4 separate regions of the Homo sapiens genome follow, and all the other regions are linked to region 1. Evidence: promoter capture Hi-C in 16 types of primary human blood cells and fetal thymus (Javierre and others, 2016). All regions are on one chromosome and are shown on one strand. Each heading gives the region's core, a stretch centred on a gene start or on the middle of the fragment in contact. The rest is flanking DNA. Distances are from core to core; before and after follow the strand shown.

Region 1 (2,773 bases), core at 112-2,611:
CTAACTTAAAAGAAAAGAAAAACTCACCTGTAGTATCAGCAGAAATTTTATTCAAGCTTAGTTCATCAGTAAGGTCTTCATTTTTAAACTTATTTTTAATGTCTCTCACTTTGTTCATTATGGAATCAATTGTCAATTCTCTGCCACTTAAATCCTCGGATTCCATTTCTAAGAAAAAAACTGAACAGTCATAACTCCTACTTTAACTAGCATCAAAGAAAAAAATGCACTAGCTTTTTAGAACCCAGACGACTAAAGCATTCGTTTTGTGAACACATCTAAATGCAGCTATTATTAGGCTAGTATTAATGGAGGTAAGTGCACAACAACAAGGTACACATCTTTGTAATTTATTCACCAAGGTTTCATAGGCCAAGTATACTTTTTCCCCCAATATAACATCAATGACGTCACACTGTAGAAATCTGCAAATTTAGTGTCACTTAAAAAAAATATGATAGAGTGTTTGCTTGGATTTTGGTAGCGACATACACATAAAGATTGCTTGGATTCTGGTAGTGACATAGACATAAAGAATTCGTTTGGCAATGGGAATAACAATTCCTTTATTCGCCTGCTTTACTTGAGTAAATCTTCCAGTGCAAGTGCTTTCAAAGCAGAATATAAACATGATGGGGCTTTACTGATAATTAGGAAATCCGCAGATTTATTCTTGTGCATATCTAGCAGAATCACGATTTGCTACCTTAATCTAACACTAAGAAACTATTGTACTGGTACTGAGCACTTGCTTATCTGCATGGTGGTGGTGTTTGTTCAATAAAGTGTCTGCAGTCTTATTGTTAATCGTATCTTTGTGACTCTCAAACACCAACTCAGTGTCACTGATAACAATGCTGCCCCGTCTTCAGGTTTAACAATGAAAAAAAGTCATAAAGTTGCAGCAAGGTATCACTCCACCTCTTAAGTCAGGTTTGAAAGATAACTGTCAGATCACGGCCACCCGCTTCTTTCCCAGTTCTAACCCCCAAAACAAGAGAGACTGTCCTTTGGAAAACGATCTTGTGCGCAGGTACCCCACCACCCCTTCTTTCCAGCGTGGGCCACACCCACTTCTTACTTCCTCAACAAAACCTCCTGCATCACCCCACCGGCCAGACCCGCTGAGGCAGTGAGACATCCCCTCCCCCTCCAGCTCGTTTAGCCGCGTCGCATACCTGGCTCCGAGCTGCCCCCACCTCGCCCCACCCCTCACCGACCAGCGCTAACAATGAGCCCCTACACCGGCTGCGGCTGTTCCTCAGTGCGCCGGTGCACCGGTAAGACAGAACTTACCTACAGAAAGCTGCGCTGGGGAAATGAAAAGATGGAACCCAAACTCCTTTCCGCAAACACGTTTGAATTTCCCCGTCGCTATCACTACGGTCTCCTATTGGTCAATGCTAGCCACGTAGAAGCGACAGTCGTGATTGGTTCTTGTGCGACGGGGGCCGCCCCTCCTCCTGCGTCAGGCTAGGCCCGCCCCGGAAGAGCCTGCGGCCGCGACCCCACCCGTGCGGCGCCTGGGTTGGTAGGGTGCTGGCACTTTGCAGGCGTTCCCCGGACGCCCGTGGGCGGGCTTTCCTGGTCTTTCCAGTTTAACCAGGCCGAATTTTTGCCTGGGAGGTAGCCACTCCCGAGCAAACCTACCCAGTGAGAGGAATATAGGGGCAGGGACGGCTGCTCCTAGCATCAGGACCTAAAAGATGCACCTTGGGCCGGCCCTTTACTGACCCCACCGCCACCCTTCTCCTTCGTTTCCCGCGGTTCTCACAGCCTGGCTTAGAGAGGATGTGGCAAGAAAGGATCTTTCACTGAGCTACGTTCAGCCCTGCCGCCAGCTCAAGAATTTCAGTGCTTTTTATCCTTGAGCTTCTGCTTATGCCCTTCCATTATCCTTAAATGACTCCACGCTCTGTCTTCAAGCCAAGACCCTCCCCCTTGTCAAAATTCTGCGCAGAACTCAAGCGCCCATCGTGATTGCCCTGTCTGAAGTCGCCTTATCGGCCCCCCTCCCTCGAAGCCTGCCCCACTTAAGGGCTCAGGTGTCCTCAGGGGTAAAAACATCTCCCTAGTAATAATCTTCGCGGGTGCGAGGCTCTGCCGCTAAGTGGCTTTGTGGTCCAGGGCAACGGTTACTCCTCGTCTGCAAAACTAAAAGGGATGTGTCTGTTGTGCCAGCATTATGACATATATTCTGTGGTAGGACGGGTTGGTTTTGTGTATGTATAGGAAACTAACTGCAGCTGTCACTTGTTAACTCCAAAGCTATCCTTAGAACCCTCACATTCCCAGCTCTGGATAGCCACCCAGCTAGCGTGAGAGCCCTTCTCAATCACTTAATGCATCTTTCTGTGTCAGCTAGCTAGTATTTCTGCTTCAGCAGAGCAAAATGACTTGCTATACCATGGTTGGCTAATCACTTACCTTTGCACCATTGCATCTAATGCTTCTGCCTGGAAAGAGTTTATTATTCCTCCAATTCTCGTTGATCTGTTTGCGGCCTGATCACAAAGCTTGCATTTTCCTTAAAATACTGTTGCTGGATGACCTCACCCTAACACTTCTTTCTGTACTCTCGTTTGGTGGTCTCCTTCAGTCTTCTATTTTTAAATACCATCTATATGTTGATGGCTCCCAAATGTGTATCATTAGCTGAGCTCTCCTCAACTCCATACTCAGATATCCACTGCCTACTTATTAACATCTTCACTTACATGTCTCATACGCATCTTGAACTCAAAATGTCCAAAACCAAGCCCCTGATCTTCCT
Region 2 (2,773 bases), core at 192-2,691, 2.2 Mb before region 1:
TTGTACCATGTTGGCCAGGCTGGTCTCAAACTCCTGACCTTAGGTGATCTGCCTGCCTTGGCCTCCCAAAATGCTAGGATTACAGGTGTGAGCCCCCACACCCGGCCTAAGTATGTCTTTTCTATCAGTCCTAGGGATTTATGGCATGAAGAGAAGGCTCCAACCACTATGTATCAAACTCACTCTTTTTCTTTCTTCTCTCTCTCTCTTTCTAATAGTGACAACACAGATTTAATTATTTAGCTAAGTAGAAAAGGAATAGGAGCAATTCTCAGTAAGATGGGCTGAGAAAGGCAAATGATACATTTTTCAGTCATCGTAAAGGGAAGACTTTTAGGAGTTCAGTGTTCTGATTGTAATAGAATACTAAGCCTGTTAAGTTTATAAGTTTGATTTATCTCAAAGTTCTGCTTATTTCATCTAGGCTTTGAATTTACCTTGAATTTCTCCAGTATTTGCCTTGAATTTCAGATTTTTTTGGTGGACTATGCTTTTAAACATAAGATTCTAAAGTTACATTCAAATACTGCCACCTTGTGGGTTATTCTTTGTTTCCCCATCCCACCCTTTAATTTGGTGGAAACAGATTCATCCAGGCAGTTCATTTCAGGTTATGTCAATTAAGTTGCTAAGAGTTGTACTAAGAGCTTCATATATATAATATATACATTATATTATATATATATATAAAATCTCATTTAAACTTCTTAAGAACTTTATGAAAGCAATACTATTAACCCTATTTCAGAGATGAGGAAACTAGGCTTAGAGGGTTTATGTAACTTGCCTGACATCTCACAGATAGTAAGCATAGGAGTAAAACTTTATATCTGGGCACCTTGCCTCTAGAATCCTTGTCTCCAGGAGTAAAACTAACAAATCTAAAAATAAAACAGTGTGATACATTATATGACTAAGTGATAGAAGCAGTATAAAGGGAATAATTGCTAGGAAAGGCCATCCGGAAAGTCTTCACAGATATGTGGGGAGGTGACCCTCTGTAAGTAAGGATTGGAAAGATAATGATTCTATAGGAAGAACGCAGCTGGGACCATACACCTGAATCCAGAAGAACACAAACACCCTATGTGGCCTATTGTTTTGTCTGCCTCACCCTGCTTTCTTTTGGGGAACTACTCTTCACTCTGCTTTAACCATGACTCTAATAGAGGATGTCAATCATGTTATCCTTGATTCCTCACCTAATCCAAGCCGACATGAGTCCGTCAGGTGCCTAGAACTTTTGTGCTTGAGATAATAGGCTCAGTGCTATCTTCCCTAATGGCAAACCTGAGGTGAGATATGTGATTTATGTGAGGTACTTAATTTGTGTGCCAGAAAGTTGTAGTCAACCAGTGATGTCCTGTAGAAGATGGTGTGGAGTAGAAGAGAATGAGGCTAAACAATAAGGTTCCAGTCATCTCTAGGCCAGCTGCACTATTGATCTTCCTCTAAAAATCATTCTTGTAGAACCTAATCAGGTTTGGGTTTCTAATCAAATTCTAGTGTTTTCTCTTCTGCCACCAGCACTGTCATTTCCTACTCCTATACAACTTGAAAGACAGCAAAATACACATAATGATGTCAGTACTTTTAATTATAAAGGATAGTACTACCAATTTATTTTGGAAAAATGGTATTTAGGGAGTTTATTATAGATGCCATGTGGCTTAGAAATATTTCTGCAGTGCTCCACTCTTGATGCCTGTACTATTCTTTTTCTACTCCCTCCGCCCATCACTGCAATCTTTTTATTTATTTATTTATTTATTGAGACAGAGTCTCGCTCTTTCACCCAGGCCGGAGTGCAGTGGCGCTATCTTGGCCCACTGCAATCTCCACCTCCCAGGTTCACGCCATTCTCCTGCCTCAGCCTCCCGAGTAGCTGGGACTACAGGTGCCCGCCACTGCGCCCGGCTAATTTTTTTTGTATTCTTTAGTAGAGATGGGGTTTCACCGTGTTAGCCAGGATGGTCTCGATCTGCTGACCTCGTGATCTGCCTGCCTCGGCCTCCTGGGATTACAGGCATGAGCCACTGTGCCTGGCCCATCACTGCAATCTTTTAAAGTCATCTCTGGTTTTTTTATTTTTTACTTTAAAAAATAAAACTACTTTAGAAACTCTAGTCAATTATTTTTCCAAACTTTGATTTTTTTAATCATTCAAGTAATATTTAAATTATTGCAATGAAAATTACAAAAGTCAAAATGATAGAAATTAAGAATCACCCATAATCCCACCATAGAAACAATCATTGTAGATATATTTTGACCTATTCTTTCATGTGTAAACACAAAATTTTTTTAAAAATCAAACAAAATGGCTCATTTTGATTTCTTCCTCCCTTAACCACATCTACAATATATTTTTCATTTAATTGTATTTCATTTGTACTATTTCCTAATTATTTTAATATTTTGTCTTGCAAATAACCAGTAAGTACTTTTGAAAGCATCTAACTTTCCTGGGAAAAGGGGAGCAATTCTACATTCCTTTGACTGGAATGTTATTTCTTTCCTGCTTCATCTACTTATCTCCTCGTTATCTAGTTATCTGAGTTATCTTCTGCTCAGTCTTTAGTTCATGTGTCACATCTTTTGGAAGTCAGATAAATCTATCAGATTAATACTTATAAACGTTGCAATTTATTATGCTTGGGAATATCTGGGTCTACATGTATTTTTGTTCACTGTTGGATCCCCAATGCTTACCACAAATTGTCCGAGACCTGGTAATTTTAACTTTTATTTATTACTATTTTTTGAGACAGGA
Region 3 (2,773 bases), core at 100-2,599, 2.2 Mb before region 1:
CTGCGGCAGGAGAATCGCTTGAACCCAGGAGATGGAGGTTGCAGTGAGCCGAGGTCACGCCATTGCACTCCAGCCTGGGTGACAGAGCAAGACTCCGTCTCAAAAAAACCAAAAAAAACAATAACAACAAAAATTAATGAACAAATAGGAACATGCTTGATAAATATTGATGTATTAGAGTTATTTTTGCCTGCAACTGGAACCAACTATGGTAACATAAACAAAATATATTGAAGGGATATCAGATACCTCGCAGAATAAACAGGTCATCAACAATTAACTGTCAAATTATAAATAAGAAAAAATTCCTCAAACTAAAATAGAGTAAGTATAAACTAAATAAACTGATTTGAAATTTTATGTCTCTCCTTCTCCAGATAATTTTTTTTTGTTTTTTTGAGACGGAGTTTCACTCTTGTTGCCCAGGCTGGAGTGCAGTGGCGCGATCTCGGTTCACTGCAACCTCTGTGTCCCGGGTTCAAGTGATTCTTCTGCCTCAGCCTCCCAGGTAGCTGGGATTATAGGCATGCACCACCACACCTGACTAATTTTTGTATTTTTACTACAGATGGGGTTTCAGCATGTTGGCCAGGCTGACGTTGAACTCCTGACCTCAGGCGATTCATCCACCCACCTCCCAAAGTGCTGGGATTATAGTCATGAGCCACTGCGCCCGGCAGAGTGTGGCTCCTCAAATGCAAGAAGAGTTAAATGTTTATGTTCAGATGCACTCCCACACAGACACAAACCCAGAGCTAGGGACTTGTAGGGACAGTGTATTTATGGGGTATTAAAGGGGTATCAGAAATGCTTTATTGTTAAAAATGTTCACATGGCCGGGAACGGTGGCTCACACCTGTAATCCCAGCACTTTGGGAGGCTGAGGCGGGCTGATCACGAGGTCAGGAGTCCGAGGCCAGCCTGGCCAACATGGTGAAACCCCATCTCTACTAAAAATACAAAAATTAGCCGGGTATGGTGGTGGGCACCTGTAATCCCAGCTACTCGGGAGGCTGAGTCAGGAGAATTGTTTGAACCTGGGAGGCGGAGGTTACTGTGAACTGAGATCGTGCCTTTGCACTCCAGCCTGGGCGACAAAGGCGAGATTCCGTCCCCCCTGCAAAAAAAAGTTCACATGTAGTTAATTTTTATTTAAAATGTTAATTTTTTATTTCTTCACATTTTCTGATTCTTCCTTATTCCAGCAAGAGTCGGATATGTGATTTTTCTTAATTATTCTCTGCAGTATGTGAGAGAAAAATGTGTGTGAATATGAGAGATAATCATTATTAAATTTTTTTTCAGTGTATTTATGGGGTTGATTATCTGACTTTTTGATACATAAGAATAGGAAGTCGGCCAGGTGTGGTGGCTCAGCCTGTAATCCCAGCACTTTGGGAGGCCAAAGCAGGTGGATCACCTGAGGTCAGAGGTCGAGACCATCCTGACCAACATGGAGAAACCCTGTCTCTACTAAAAATAGAAAATTAGCCGGGCGTGGTGGTGGATGCCTGTAATCCCAGCTACTTGGGAGGCTGAGGCAAGAGAATTGCTTGAACCTGGGAGGTGGAGGTTGCGGTGAGCCAAGATTGCGCCATTGCATCACTCCAGCCTGGGCAACAAGAGCGAAATTCTGTCTCAAAAAAAAAAAAATAATAATAAAATAGGAAGTTACTGATGATATAGGTAATTAATAATATATATATATTTATGTATTTGTTTGTTTGTTTGTTTTAGCATGGTGTTAGTCTGTATATTCAAGATAAAGAAGGCTTGTCAGCTTTGGATCTTGTAATGAAGGATAGACCAACTCATGTAGTATTCAAGAATACTGGTAAGAAAATTTCACAAATGGGCTGGGCGCTGCGGCTCACACCTGTAATCCCAGCAATTTGGTAGGCTGAGGCAGGCGGATCACTTCAGGTCAGGAGTTCGAGAATACTGGTAAGAAAATTTCACAAATGGGCTGGGCGCTGCGGCTCACACCTGTAATCCCAGCAGTTTGGTAGACCGAGGCAGGCGGATCACTTGAGGTCAGGAGTTCGAGCCTGACCAACATGGTACAACCCCGTCTCTACTAAAAATACAAAAGTTAGCCGGGCATGGTAGCAGGCAATCCTAGTTACAGGCAATCCTAGCTCCTCTAGGCAATCTTAGAGGCTGAGGCAGGAGTATTGCTTGAACCTGGGAGGTGGAGGTTGCAGTGAGTTGAGATCTTGCCACTGCACTCCAGCCTGGGTGATAGAGCTAGACTTCGTCTCAAAAAAAAAAAAAAAAAAAACTTTACAAATGTATTCCATTAAGGTGCAGCTTAGCTTAGAAAATTTTAATGAAATTTTATTCTTCTTAAAGTAGTGGGGAAATTTATTTGTGTGTGGCTATCTGCAAAGAAATTTTACTTTGGTATATGTTGGATATTTTTTGTTTCATATTCAGAACAATTTTATTTTGCATTTTAAAATTTCAATCCATATTTATGTCTATATAAAAGTACAATCTAAAATGGGAGGACTGTTATAATTGTAACTACTGTAAAGTAATTGATATATACTCAGAAAGTAACATCAGCATTGAGGTAGAAGGAAAAAGGAATGTAAATTTTTATTCCTTTTGTTATTTTTGAGATAGGGTCTCTGGAAATTATCATTATTTTTGTGGTTGTTGTTGAGATAGGGTCTCGCTTTGTCAGTCAGGCTGGAGTGCAGTGGCAAGAACACGGCTCATTGCAGCTTCAACCTTCTGAGCTTAAGCCATCCTCTCACTTCAGCCCTCC
Region 4 (2,773 bases), core at 129-2,628, 2.2 Mb before region 1:
AGGATTTTTTTTTTATGTTTACTGAGATGCTTCAAATTAGGTGCTTGATATGTTCACTAAAGCTCAAAGGAATAATGTCAAGAATAGTTTTAGATAACATAAAGATAAAAAAAGGATAGATAATATGCCTAAAATTTATTTATGAAGCAATGAAAATAGGAATCAGGAGACCTAGTAAATGGGAAAGCTATTATCTTAGGACTTTTCTAAATTTAAAATTCTGTGACTCTGTGTTCTCTGTGTTGTATGAATTACCGTTAGTGTTTAGAAGGAGGCAGGGGTGGATTGATGGAAGGATGAATAATGGATAGACAGTCTTGAAAGTAATGACTTTCCAGTCACCTAAATGACTTATGGAAAAGCAGATATTTGGTTTGTTTTAAATAATGTTATTGTTACCATATGTGTTAGAATCTTAGAATTTCAGAGCTAGAAGAGACATTAGTAATGAAATAATTTATGTCCCTTACTTTAAACCTAAGGAAAGAAGCTCAAAAAACATAAGTGATTTGAAGTAGTGACCAAAAGAAATAAAATTTGTTCTCTTGATTCCAGGTCCGTATTTTCCTGGTGTACTGTTCTTTCTGTGGCCAGGATATCTGTAGTCAAAGATAACTAAAAGGTCAGATTTAATTGGAGGCCAAAAAGACCTGTTAAGGAAGAAAATTTGAGTATGAGGCCAATTTCATCAAAGACAGTTGCGTAAAAGCTTAACATCTGTGTCGATCTTAAAGTTAGACAAACGGCATTCAGCAAAACTGTTTTTGACCAGAAGTAATTGTTGGCCACATTAATTGTCCTCTTTTTTTCTGGATTTATTTCTAACTGACTTTTGAGAGTGTTCTAATATTAGATGTATTCTCTTCGATGAAAATTTGCCAGCCTTAAAAATATTCAAAAAGAGGCAAGACGCAGTGGCTCCTGCCTGTAATCCCAGCACTTTGGGAGGCCAAGGCGGGCGGACCACAAAATCAGGAGCTCCAGACCAGCCTGGCCAATATGGTGAAACGCTGTCTCTAGTAAAAATACAAAAAAAATTAGCCGGGCATGGTGGTGCATGCCTGTAATCCTAGCTACTTGGAAGGCTGAGGCAGGAGAAACACTTGAACCTGGAGGTGGAGGTTGCAGTGAGCTGAGATCATGCCACCGCACTCCAGCCTGGGCAATAGAGTAAGACTCTGTCTCAAAAAAAAAAAAAAATTCAAAAAGATTGTGTGGCAAAAAAAATGTTTAAATGTTCTTTCCAAATTGTAGTGATAACAATAAAAGAAACATTTAGCTTGTTAAGGTGATTTACTTTAAAGAGAACAATGTATAAGAGATGGTAGGTTTTATTTTTAAATCAATTATACAGCTTTTAGTTACAAGTTAGATAACATCTTTATTTTATAGCTTATTTTGGTACTTCATTTAGATTCTAATAAATTTGAAATGTGTGGAAATGGACATGTGAATCTAAGCAAAAGTTTGAACCTGGATACCAGGTGTGGCATGAGGCCAGGCATTTAGCTTGCCTAAGAGAAGAAATGATATATACATTTCACAACAACCCTCTTGCTTCAAGCGAGCTCTCAATAGCCAGAGATTTCAGGGAAAAACACACTTCAAACAGGCCACAGTTGTCTTCTGCGGGAGCCTCTGCTATGGGGTCAGTCAGCTGGCTAAGTGAGAGGCAAAAAGGCCACAGGGTTCCTCCCACATAGAATGAAGCTACCCCCTTGCTTGGGTGCGGAGACCACTGTACCAAGAGACAGATGAGAAAGGGAAAAGAGGTCTGGATTTTAATTATTTTCCCTTTCTCCTTTGTCTCTTATGCGGACAAAAATATTTTAAATCACTTTTTAGAGCAGATCCCAAAGAACTATCTTCCTCAGGTTCATTACACAATTGGTGTGTGATTGTAATGAATAAAATTATTGTTTTAGAATCTCTTCCATTTCAGTTTTTCACTTAAACTGATTTCTTTCTCCAGTTAACTTGAATTATTAAGATTTTTATACCATAAATATAATTTGAATGTTATTAAATCTGGATAAATGAAAGCTTTTTTAGCTCTCTGGTTCATGGAATGTAATGCATATATGTTTAATGCATATGTGTTTAATTTTTTTTAATTTCATGTTTTAGGATTATTAAAGTCTGGTAAGACCAATTCTGTGGAATCTCTTCCAGAACTGTTGACATCAGACTCTGAAGGAAGCTATGCAGGAGTGGGTAGTCCTAGAGATTTACAGTCCCCTGATTTCACAACAGGATTTCATTCAGATAAGATTGAGGTTTGTTTTTTGAAGCACTACCTCCTTACCTTCAGATTTTAGATTTATAGATGGTTTATCTTTAATATTTCCTTATTTTTGCCCTAATTTTAAAACAGTTTCCAGGTTGGTATATAAGAATCACAAATATAGTGTTAGTTTTCTTAAATTTGCACAACATTTCTATTTTTAGAGATTGTAATGGCAGTTTTGAGCCCTTTATGATGTTATTTCTAGTCTTTGTGCAACTAAAATATAATGTTGATGTAAAATATAATAACACTATAGACATGTTGAAAAAATATATTTGTAGCTAAATTATTGAAATTTATCTTGTGAAATGTCAGTTAACATCAGTTAAAAATTGTCAAGGCAAATGATTTCGAAAATAAGCCTACTTTGAAAGTTCGCAGTCTCTTTCCTCCAGGGTATTAACTGGAGCAAAACAATTTGGAAATGATTTGAGTTCTTCTCCTAATCTAGCACATTAAGCTGCAGGATTCCTAGCCTAATCAGCT

What was found. The method cuts DNA at HindIII sites, captures the fragments that hold promoters and counts their contacts. A CHiCAGO score of 5 or more calls a contact.
Region 2: a fragment that was not itself captured here is called in contact with the fragment with the promoter of TTK in region 1 in 7 of 17 cell types (monocytes, total B cells, total CD4 T cells and 4 more); the score reaches 9.4 in monocytes.
Region 3: a contact is called between a fragment that was not itself captured here and the fragment with the promoter of TTK in region 1, in 1 of 17 cell types (monocytes). The highest score is 6.0, in monocytes.
Region 4: a fragment that was not itself captured here is called in contact with the fragment with the promoter of TTK in region 1 in 1 of 17 cell types (monocytes); the score reaches 7.6 in monocytes.

Annotation. Positions count from the first base shown.
Region 1 is chr6:80,003,237-80,006,009 of GRCh38, reverse strand. It overlaps TTK (TTK protein kinase), which reads right to left and starts at 1,361. Exons shown (of 22, transcript NM_003318.5): 1 at 1,297-1,361; 2 at 28-168. The coding sequence starts at 166. RefSeq lists enhancers at 1,760-1,879, 1,450-2,324. The HindIII fragment of the contact is 2,460 bases long and covers 59-2,518 here.
Region 2 is chr6:82,249,889-82,252,661 of GRCh38, reverse strand. No RefSeq gene overlaps it. Among named protein-coding and RNA genes, the nearest start is that of IBTK, 3.5 kb to the right of the region's middle. The HindIII fragment of the contact is 4,001 bases long and covers 1-2,773 here.
Region 3 is chr6:82,233,220-82,235,992 of GRCh38, reverse strand. It overlaps IBTK (inhibitor of Bruton tyrosine kinase), which reads left to right. Exons shown (of 29, transcript NM_015525.4): 3 at 1,738-1,834. Among named protein-coding and RNA genes, the nearest start is that of IBTK, 13 kb to the left of the region's middle. The HindIII fragment of the contact is 6,415 bases long and covers 1-2,773 here.
Region 4 is chr6:82,195,801-82,198,573 of GRCh38, reverse strand. IBTK (inhibitor of Bruton tyrosine kinase) reads left to right here. Exons shown (of 29, transcript NM_015525.4): 22 at 2,128-2,276. Among named protein-coding and RNA genes, the nearest start is that of IBTK, 51 kb to the left of the region's middle. The HindIII fragment of the contact is 1,334 bases long and covers 712-2,045 here.